Regions from separate parts of the Homo sapiens genome. Here all the other regions are linked to region 1. The links are contacts of gene promoters, found by promoter capture Hi-C in blood cells and fetal thymus (Javierre and others, 2016). All regions are on one chromosome and are shown on one strand. Each heading gives the region's core, a stretch centred on a gene start or on the middle of the fragment in contact. The rest is flanking DNA. Distances are from core to core; before and after follow the strand shown.

Region 1 (3,906 bases), core at 426-2,925:
AGGGTTTCACCACATTGGCCAGGATGGTCTCAATCCCCTGACCTCGTGATCTGCCCGCCTCGGCCTCCCAAAGTGCTGGGATTATGGGTGTGAGACACCATGCCCGGCCTCAATTTTTATATTTTTAGTAGAGATGGTGTTTCACCATGTTGGCCAGGCTGGTCTCAAACTCCTGACCCCAGGTGATCTGCCCGCCTTAGCCTCCCAAAGTGCTGGGATTACAGGCATGAGCCACCACGACCGGCCACCCTTCACGTCTTTGTTTCCAGCCACTGCCTCTTGGAAGCCTGCTTTGACACCCCCAGCTCTGCCTGATTCCACAATCTTTCCCACTGTGCTGAGTTCTCTGGAGACAGTGCCTGCATCCCTCCAGTTCCCTGCTGTATCCGCGGTGCCTAATGTGGGACGTGGCCCAGAGCTGGTGCTCGGTATGCCTGTGATATTACTACATTAAAAGCAAAAACAAACACACGAACCAAAAAACCATCCTGGGCGTAGTGGCTCACATCTTCAATCCCAGCACTTTGGGAGGCTGGGCAGAAGGATCGTTTGAGCCCAGGAGTTTGAGACCAGCCTGGGCAACACAGCAAGACCCCCAACTCTACAAAAAATAAAAAATCAGTCTGGCATCCTGGGGCGCTCCTGTAGTCCCAGCTACTCGGGAGGCTGAGGCGGGAGGATCATTTGAGCCCAGGAGGTCGAGGATGCAATGAGCTGTGATTGTGCCACTACACTCAGCCTGGGCAACAGAGCAAGATCCCGTCTCAAAGCAAAACAAAGCACTTTGCAGGACAGTATTTGCAGCTCGAATCTTCCTTATTTCCTTGTGCATACCCCACAATTGCAGTGACATCAGGAAGGGGGTACAATGAACGTGTCCCTGCCCTCCCATGACTCCCCACGTCCCCCAAGACTTGGCCCGAGGCCGGGCGTGGTGACTGACTTCTGCGATCCCAGCACTTGGGGAGGCCGAGGCGGGCGGATCACTTGAGGTCAGGAGTTCAAGAGCAGCCTGGCCAACAAGGAGAAACCCCGTCTCTACTAACAATACAAAAAAGTAGCTGGGCATGGTGGTACACATCTGTAATCACAGCTACTCGCGAGGCTGAGGCAGGAGAATCGCTTGAACCCGGGAGGTGGAGGCTGCCAGTGAATCGAGACCAAGCCACTGCACTCCAGCCTGAAAGAAAAAGCGAGACTCCGTCTCAAAAGAAAAAAAAAAAAGACTCGACCCAGCTCTGCGCGTCGCATTCCTGCCCGAACCCCCACTTGTCGCCTCACTTTTGCTCCCTGGCTTTTGCTCAAGCCGTGCCCTTGGGCTGGAACGCCTCCACACTGAGGTGGGGTCATGCACGTCCTGTGGACTCCTAGTCTAGACCCAAACCCAGATACAACACCTGAGGTTAGAGCCCAGCCCTGGGGTGCCAGCCCTGGGGTGCCAGGTGTTCAGGCACCCGCGCCCCACGCCCTCTGGCTGCGCCTGCGCACTGGGCCTCACCGCGCTCCTTGCGTTCGGGGAAGCCGTAGTCTGGCGGGAAGGTTGGCATCTGCAGGGGGTCGGGCTCCACCGAGGCATCGCCCAGGTAGCGCCGGACCAGGTGGGCCCCCATGGCTGCAGTCGCTGCAGATCCCTGCAGCAGCCGAGGGTCACCTAGCTCCTACCCGGAACCACTGACCCCTCAGTCAGACACAGCTTCCGGGTCATTTAGGCAGCTGCGGAGATCATAGAGATGAAGGACTCCAGAGGATCGCTCCGGTCCGCCTGGCGTCACCTCGCGGACAGGCGGAGGCGGGACAGGTGCTGTGTCTCTTCGCAGGATATGGTTGGACCCGAGAGGGGACTTCCCTGAGCCTGGAAATCCATCTGGGCGGGGCAGAAGGGGACGGTGTGGGACTGAGGCCTCCCTCGACCCTATCTGGGGCTCTTCTGGTAGCCCGAGGCTAAAGCACATATTAAAATTATTTTTCATATCATTTTCCAAAAAGTTTTTTCTTTGAAAACATTCAAATTTCTCTTAAAAAAGGCACGATATCTATTATATCGTTAATGTATGTAATTTTGCATAAAGTCACTTTAAGAATTTTTTGTTTTTGGAGACACAGTACCTGTCGCCCAGACTGGAGTGTATTGGCGCGATCTCGGCTCACTGCAGCCTCCACCTCCTGGGCTCAAATTCTCTTGCCTCAGCCTCCTGAGTAGCTGGGATTACAGGCGCCCGCCACCACCCCCAGCTAATTTTTGTATTTTTAGTAGAGACGGGGTTTCGCCAGTTGGCCAGGCTGGTCTCGAACCCCTGACCTCAAGTGATTCCCCCGCCTCAGCCTCCCAAATTGCTGGGATTACGGGCATGAGCCACAGTGCCTGTCCAAGAAAGATTTTGATAAATTTAATTTAAATAAAAGTTATTCATAAATACAGTTATTATTATATTATTATTTTTTGAGATAGGGTCTCATTCTGTCGCCCAGGCTGGAGCACAGTGGCACAATCATAGCTCACTGCAACCTTGAACTCTTGGGCTCCAGGGATCCTCCCGCCTCAGCCTCTCAAAGTGTTGGGATTATGGGCGTAAGCCACTGTGCCTGGTCAAAAACAATTATTTAAAGCTGAAATTTCAAATAAATTATATATATATATGCAATCTTTATACAATTTTAAAATATATTAATATCTAATATTAATATCTAATATATATTTTTCCCCAGTCTGACAAAGCATGTATTAGGCATCTACTGTATGGTATGCTGGGTCCAGTGGTCAGACAGAAAGGCAGACGTGGTTCCTGTCTTTCAAGCTTACAGTCTAATGGAACAGAAAAACAGTCTAATGGAAAAAAAAAAATATGGGCCAGGGCAGTGGCTCACACCTGTAATCTCAGAGCTTTGGGAAGCTGAGATGGGAGGATCGCCTGAACTCAGGAGTTTGAGACCAGCCTGGGCAATATAGGGAGACTCTATCTCTACAAAAAAAAAAAAAAAAAAAAAAGCTGGGTGTGGTGGTGCACGCTTGTAGTCCCAGCTACTCGGGAGGCTGAGGCAGGAGGATAACTTGAGCCCAGGAGTTCCAGGCTGCAGTGAGCCGTGATCCCATCACTGCACTCCAGCCTAGGCAACAGAGTGAGACCCTGTCTATAAAAATTCCCAGGTGATGTGATGTTGCTGGTCTAGTGACCAGCTTTGGGAGAATTACTCAACTAGATCTTTATGTGTTGACATGGGGAAGTGGCTGCTGATATATTAAGTGAAAAAAGCAAGCTATTGAGAATAGACAACTGGCAATAGAGACTTTTCTTTTTCTTTCTTTTTTTTTTTTTTTTTTGAGACAGAGTTTCACTCTTGTTGCCCAGGCTGGAGTGCAGTGGTGTGATCTCGGCTCACCGCAACCTCCGCCTTCTGGTTTCAAGCGATTCTCCTGCCTTAGCCTCCTAAGTAGCTGGGATTACAGGTGGGTGCCATCACGGCCAGCTAATTTTTTTTTTTTTTTTTTTGAGACGGAGTCTTGCTCCGTTGCCCAGGCTGGAGTGCAGTGGCGCAATCTCGGCTCACTGCAAGCTCCGCCTCCCGGGTTCACGCCATTCTCCTGCCTCAGCCTGCCGAGTAGCTGGGACTACAAGCGCCCGCCACCACGCCCGGCTACTTTTTTTGTATTTTTAGTAGAGACGGGGTTTCACCGTGTTAGCCAGGATAGTCTTGATCTCCTGACCTTGTGATCCGCCCGCCTTGGCCTCCCAAATAATTTTTTTGTATTTTTAGTAGAGACGGAGTTTCATCATGTTGGCTAGGCTGGTCTTGAACTCCTGACCTCAGGTGATCCACCCGCTTCGGCCTCCCAAAGTGCAGGGATTACAGGCTTGAACCACTGCGTCCAGCTGAGACCTTCTTTCCAGGGCTACCTGTGTGACCTGT
Region 2 (3,519 bases), core at 824-3,323, 300 kb after region 1:
AATAATGATCACCAAATGATGGTCAAAGGTAATGCAACTTCTAAGAAGAGATCTAATACAAAAAGCCAAAAAGCACAATAAAAAATAAGAGAGAAAACAAGTTGGAAATGCATGCATAAAAGGCAATTTATTTGTCCAAATGTTGCAGAAGAACTTTCTACATTTATGTAGCAAGGAGGGGAGCACACTATGATCAATGGATTTGGCTACACAATACTTCTAAGCTTTCACACATTTCCCTCAAATACATTGAAAGTTACATAACAGTAATAAAAGACATATGCCAAAATTGATGAAGAACTCCAAGTCTTATATTTTGATAAATGAAATAAAACAGGATTAAAAATATTACAAACCCATTTTACAAAAGGAAAGTTCATGTACAGTTTGCAATAGCTGTAAATGTCTAACAAATACACAGATATATTTAGCTTCACTAGTAAAAAAAAGTGGCAAAGTTTGTTAGTATTTCACTTTTTCACCCATTAAATAAGTTTTTGATTTCATTTGAATACTTAGCATGAGAGAAGATACTACAAAATGTATACCTCATGACTGCTGTTGTCAGGTAGTTTTTGAAAGGAATTCATTGGTCTGGATCTTTCTCACCAATATGGAAAGACAGTCAAATATGCCCCTTCTTAAAAACAAACAAACGAACAGACAAACAAATCCCTCTCTTCAGTGTATATCTCTCCACAGGTAATTGACAGAGCAGGAGCACCATCATCTTGGACAACCGCCACTTTAAGTTCCAGCTCCTTTTCTAACCTCATGCATCTTAAGAAAATCACTTCTCTTCTAACAACAAGCAGCCAGAAAGAGCAGACAGTAAAACACAGATAAGACAGCTCGGGCATAGAGGGAGGGGGAAAGTCTCTTGGGTAACCACCAAACCTGGCACTCACACAGTGGGCCCCAGAAAAACAGTGGGCTCTAATAAGCACATTCCTTTCCCTTTAGGTGCACTAAGATAGGGAAGCTAAAAGCAGACTTGGGGGGTATGCCTGCAGCTGCAAGAAGATGTACGGGAACAGACACAAAAACTCTCTCTCCAGGTAAGCAAGACAAAGAGGCACAGAAACATTCCAAGCCGGTGATAAGCTCTCCCGCCTTGAACCCTTAAAAACTCTTAGTCTGTAAGAGAGTGCCTTGGCTGGCACAGTGGCTTACATCTGTAATCCCAGCACTTTGGGAGGCTGAGGCAAGCAGATCATGAGGTCAGGAGTTTGAGACCAGCCTGGTCAACATAGTGAAACCCTGTCTCTACTAAAAATACAAAAAATTAGCTGGGCGTGGTGGCAGGCACCTGTAGTCCCAGCTACTTGGGAGGTGGAGGCAGGAGAATCACTTGAACTTGGGAGGCAGAGGTTGCAGTGAGCTGAGATTGCACCACTGCACTTCAGCCCGGGCAACAGTGTGAGACTCCGTCTCAAAAAAAAAAAAAAAAAAAAAGAAAGAGAGTACCTCTGACCTAACTCAGCCAGAAGCCCCTCTCAGGTTTGTTCTCCAAAATAAACCTGTCTTCAACCGTTGAGCTGCTTTTCATGTTTCTTTAACTATTACAGTAGTACCCTATTTTTCATCTTCACTTAATTGTAAAGATCCTTGGGCACGGATGCTACTTTTACTGGAGCCACTTTAATCATCTCATTTCCTCTTCTAATTGGGCTTCTATTACTATTACTTCATTGTCAACAATCATCCTCCAATGCTGAATTCAATGTTCATGTCTCTTTTTAGTATCCTAAGTAAATACCTGAATCAATTAATTAGTCAGGCAAGTTAGCAAACAACCACAACAATCTCTCCACTCTAGCACTGGTTGGTTTGGCTCTCAGGTAGCCTTAGGTTCACGTTCACAGCTCCCATTCTCCCTGACCCTTTCCCGCAGTACCTACTGGACTCTTTGACTTACCTTGACTGGTTTTCTGAAAGAAAAGCCTCCATGTGGAAGTGTGAATTCCTCCCTGAATGGTTGTTGGTGGAGATGGAAGCTCTGTCCCGAGACAAGACAGTAGGAGAAAGGAAAGCATCGGTGCCCAAGCCAGCAGATTTAGACTCCAAAAAACACAAGCATGTCCCATCCAGCCCAAGGTTGCATATGCTAAGTGACAACAGCCAAGGGGGTACTTACAGATTTGCACATTAGGTGCATTTCCTCTTGTTATTCCAACCCTGAGCAGATCATTTTCCTTTGGGATTTTACCCTGCTCTGAATTGATTTTTTCCCTGTATTCTCTATTCCCAAGACACCATATTAAGCCTGCAGTGAATCCAGTCTTTATTATTCCTTCTCCATGGACTTGTTTGCCTTCCAGAGTTCTAACCTCCTAATGCCTTACTCTATTCCTCATTCCCGAGGGAAGGTTTTCTCCTAAGTCTAAACTAAGGAACTTGTCTTAACTATGTTCCTTGCATCTCCAAGGTATTCACTTGTGATGGGAACACAGCCCTTGATATCTCCAGAATTATCGCTATTTTCCTCTTTAACAAGGGGGTGAACTCTGTTCTGATATAAAACCGTGAGTCCTACATTTCTTGAAATCATGATGCTTTTGCCAAAACAATGAGAAATTTTGTACTTCTTAAAAAGGTTAAGAGCTGTCATTTAATTCTTCATGTATAAAACATCTGGTTACTCTTAAGAGATATATTTGGCTCTTTTCATGCAAGTTGCCCTGAGAATAGCACCTTCTAAAGATTATTTAATTTAATTTTTCAAAATTTATTTATTTAAATTGACAGATAAAATTGTATTTATCACAAAAAACATCACATTTTGAGGTATATATACATTACAGAATGGTTAGGTCTAGCTAATGGATATATGTTTTACCTCACATAGTTATCATTTTTGTAGTGAAAACACTTAACATCCACTCTCTTAACATTTTCCAGAAACACCATATATCATCCTTAAATATAAAATCTTCATGCTATACTATAGATCTGCTGAACGTATTTTTTCTGGCTGCAATTTTGTATCCTTTGACAAACATTTCCCCACTCCTCCTCCCACAACAGCTGTAGCCTCTGGTAGCCACTGTTCTACTCTATAATTCTATGAGATCAACTTTTTTATATTCCATATGATTAAGATCATGTGATATTTGTGTTTCTGTGCCTAGAATATTTCACTTAACATAATGCTCTCTAGGTTCTTTCATTTTGTTGCAAATCACAGTATTTCCTTCTTACACAGGGCTGTATAGTATTCCATTATGTACATATGCCACATTTTAATATCCATTCATCCACTAAGGTACACTTAGATTGACTTCATATCTTGGCTATTGTGACACTGCAATAAACAGGAAAGTGCAGATATCTGTTTAATACACTATTGTCATTTCCATTGGATAAATACCTAGTGGGATCCCTGAGTCGCATTCTATTTTTAACTTTTTGAGGAACGTACATACTGTTTTCCATAATGGCTATACTAATTTACATTCCATGAACAATGTATAAGATTTCCCCTTTCTCCATATCGTTGTCAGCATTTGTTATTTTTCC
Region 3 (3,513 bases), core at 789-3,288, 320 kb after region 1:
GTGGGCTCAGATATTCATCTACCATAAAATTATATTAATGACCTTACAGTTGCCAAGCGTAGTTAATTCTTTGGGATGAATATAACTCACCCCTGTATGAGAAAAACTTCCATTTGTTTCTGGACCTAGTTTGGATGTAATTTTAGAAAAATGACAGAGGACAAAAACAGTTGCATATCAGAGCAGAAAGCTTTATTAAGAAAAAGTGTAAATTTTCTAATGTCGTCAAGGTTAAAGAAATCTAAAGTCCAGAATATAAATACTAGGAGAAAATTCTACTTTCACAATCTGATCCATGAATCATAATTTCTGGCTAGGGGATTTAGAGCTCTGAAATCTCAAGAACTTCTGGAAAATGGCCCTCCTGTTTCTGCTCTCTGAAGAATCGATTCAGAGCTCTGTTTATGTCTTTATTCCTCAGGCTGTAGATGAAGGGGTTCAGCATGGAGGTGACCACAGTGTACATCACCGAGGCTGCAGCATTTGAGAGTGAGTTATGGGTTGCAGCAGAACTAAGGTACACACCTACGCCTGTACAATAAAATAAGGAGACAACTGAGAGGTGAGATGCACAGGTGGAAAGTGCTTTATTCATCCCCTGAGCTGATGAGATCGAACATATGCAACAAAGTATCTTAAAGTAAGTAAAATATTCCAGCGAGGCATCCCCCACCCAGCAGCACACTTGTAAAATTCATCATCATGTCATTAATAAAAGTGTCGGAACAGGCAAGGTGGATGACCTGATTAAGTTCACAGAAAAAATGAGGGATTTTCAATTCTGTACAGAAGGACAGCTGCAATGCCATTATGCTTTGTAACAGAGAATATAGGATGCTCACGATCCAGGACACCAGAACCAGCAGTCCACAGAGCCAGGAGTTCATAATGACTGTGTAGTGCAGGGGGTGACAGATGGCCACAAACCGGTCATAGGCCATCACAGTCAGGAGTAAGCTGTCCAACACTACAAAGAGTATAAAAAAGCACATCTGGGTGATGCAGTCTGCATAGGTGATGACTCTGCTCTGTGTCTGGATGTTCACCAGCATCTTTGGGACAGTGGTAGACACAAAACAGATGTCTGCAAAGGACAGGTTGGAGAGGAAGAAGTACATGGGGGTGTGGAGGTGGGAGTCTGAGATTGTGGCCAGGATGATGAGCAGGTTCCCGAGCACGGTGACCAGGTACATGGACAGAAATAGCCCAAAGAGGAAGGGCTGCAATTCTGGTTCCTCTGAAAGTCCCAGGAGAAGGAATTGTGAAATTTGTGTCTCATTCCCTGGTTTCATCTTGTTGATGTGACTTCCAAAAGAGAGAGAAAGAGAACATGACACAAGCATGCATTACAAACATATCAGAAATATTCTCACTTATATTCTACAGTCAAGAAGTTAATATGGGCTGGCTGCAGTGGCTCACGCCTGTAATCTCATCACTCGCGGAGGCCAAGGTGGACGGATCACCTGAAGTCAGGAGTTCGAGACCAGCCTGGCCAACATGGCAAAAACCGGTCTCAGCTAAAAATACAAAAAAAATTAGCCGGGCGTGCTGGCGCATGCCTGTAATCCCAGCTACTTGGGAGGCTAAGGCATGAGAATCACTTGAACCCAGGAGGTGGAGATTGTAGTGAGCCGAGATCATGCCACTGCACTCCAGCCTGGGCAACAGAGTGAGACCCTGTCTTTAAAAAATAATAATAAAATAAAATAATAAATAAATAAATAACTTCCTACAATTTAATGATGAATGAAAAATACAAGTATGTTTTTAAAATGCCATCCTCAATATCAGATGGTGATGCATCCTATGAAGAAGGAGGTTAGAAGGAAAGAGTGGATGGGGTAATAGATTTTCCAGGGTGTTCAGGCAGGACCAGCAGAGAAGGTGACAAATGAAGAGAGCCCATAATGAAGACAGGGTGGAGGGCACTACGTTCCCTGCAGAAGTTTGTGCAATGGAGCAAAATGATCAATGAAAGACCCCGAGGAATGTGCTTCTTTCAGATATTTGAGGACTGCGAAGAAGACAGTGTGGCCGGGGAATGAGCAAGAGGCGAGGGCTGTCGGAGGATGTTAGGGAAGGAAGTGTCCTCATAGCTGCTGAAATTTGAAGACACAAAGAGTCCCTCTGTCCAGATACTGATGCCTTTAATTTGGCTGCAAAGGTGTTTCATGAACTGCAATGCATGCTCATTCTGTTTACTGATATTTTCCTGAGATGTGGCCTTTATCTGATGGGTTACCTTTTGAAATATAGAGATCAGGTTCCCTATCTCTGAAACCTGTGCTCACTCTAAAGTTGTGCACCCACACACGTGCACACACACACAGAGAACGCACCCACACAGGCAGCCATGGCTTCCTGGGGCCATGTTACCCCCTCACGCTTCTCATCCCACTCACAGTATTAGAAAGGAATGGATACCAGGCAAGCTGTTAATATCAAATTATCTTTCCCCAAGAAGATACAGATATGGTACCTAGAATTTCCAGTTTGAAAACTTCTCATGCATATGGAACCTCGAGCGCCACTGCACTCCAGCCTGCGTGACAAAGCGAGACTCTGTCTCAAAAACAAACAAACAAACAAAAAACCGAGAGGCAGAGAGAGAAAATCGATTGGAACTGAAGGGAAAAATAATCTAATAAGCTCACATAGTCCCTCAGAGACCTTAAGGAAGAAAAGGCTTCCTTAGTTTTGAAAACATTCCAACTCCTCTTATATCCCTGAGGCCCAGCAAAAATCAGAAAAGACAAAGGGAAATTTACCAAATATCAAACATGGTGATATCTTTTCTGTGTCAAGATACTGATAGATTGAGAATCCCCATGGAAAAAAAAATGAGCAAATGATAAAAATCAACTATTCAAAAAGGAAATACAAAAGGAACTTCTGGGCCAGCTTATTTATTGTGCTGGGGTCTGTCCTGTGCATTGTACGATGTTTATCAGCTTCCCTGTTCTCTACTGACCCTCCCCAGGGTGACAGCCAACCCAGTCATTGCTCAATGTCCCCTGGGAGACAAAACCACCCCTGGGTAAGAACCGATTTTTAACATAAAAATCACAAAATATTTCCATACCTTTTATCAACTGAGAAAGGACAAGGGAAGATGAGCCTTAAAACAAACAAACAAACAAAAAAACCTATAGTCAAATATAAAAAGCACATGTGTTATGCATAACATACTACTCAACCTTTGTATAAACCTTTGTGTAAAGAGAAGGTTTATGAGGAACTAAAATCTTATGGAGAATAGAATATAAGTGAGGATGCTATTAGGTTAAGAACAGTTATTTCATTTTATGGCTGCATAGTATTCCATGGTGTATGTCCTTTGCAGGGACATCAATAAAGCCAGAAACCATTATCCTCAGCAAACTAACATAGGAACAGAAAACCAACCACCACACATTCTCACTTATCAGTGGGAGCTGAACAATGAGAATGCATGGACACATGGAGGGGAACAACACACACTGAGGTCTGCTGGCGGGGGGGGTGGTGGGA

The links. The method cuts DNA at HindIII sites, captures the fragments that hold promoters and counts their contacts. A CHiCAGO score of 5 or more calls a contact.
Region 2: a fragment that was not itself captured here is called in contact with the fragment with the promoter of NDUFB7 in region 1 in 2 of 17 cell types (naive B cells and total B cells); the score reaches 6.3 in naive B cells.
Region 3: a contact is called between a fragment that was not itself captured here and the fragment with the promoter of NDUFB7 in region 1, in 4 of 17 cell types (total CD8 T cells, naive CD8 T cells, total CD4 T cells and 1 more). The highest score is 7.5, in total CD8 T cells.

The regions. Positions count from the first base shown.
Region 1 is chr19:14,570,391-14,574,296 of GRCh38, forward strand. NDUFB7 (NADH:ubiquinone oxidoreductase subunit B7) reads right to left here and starts at 1,676. Exons shown (of 3, transcript NM_004146.6): 1 at 1,499-1,676. The coding sequence starts at 1,610. RefSeq lists an enhancer at 1,608-1,897. The HindIII fragment of the contact is 3,352 bases long and covers 1-2,793 here.
Region 2 is chr19:14,865,237-14,868,755 of GRCh38, forward strand. It overlaps the pseudogene OR7A2P. Among named protein-coding and RNA genes, the nearest start is that of OR7A10, 18 kb to the left of the region's middle. The HindIII fragment of the contact is 3,703 bases long and covers 223-3,519 here.
Region 3 is chr19:14,891,513-14,895,025 of GRCh38, forward strand. It overlaps the pseudogene OR7A1P. Among named protein-coding and RNA genes, the nearest start is that of OR7A17, 7.1 kb to the left of the region's middle. The HindIII fragment of the contact is 3,700 bases long and covers 189-3,513 here.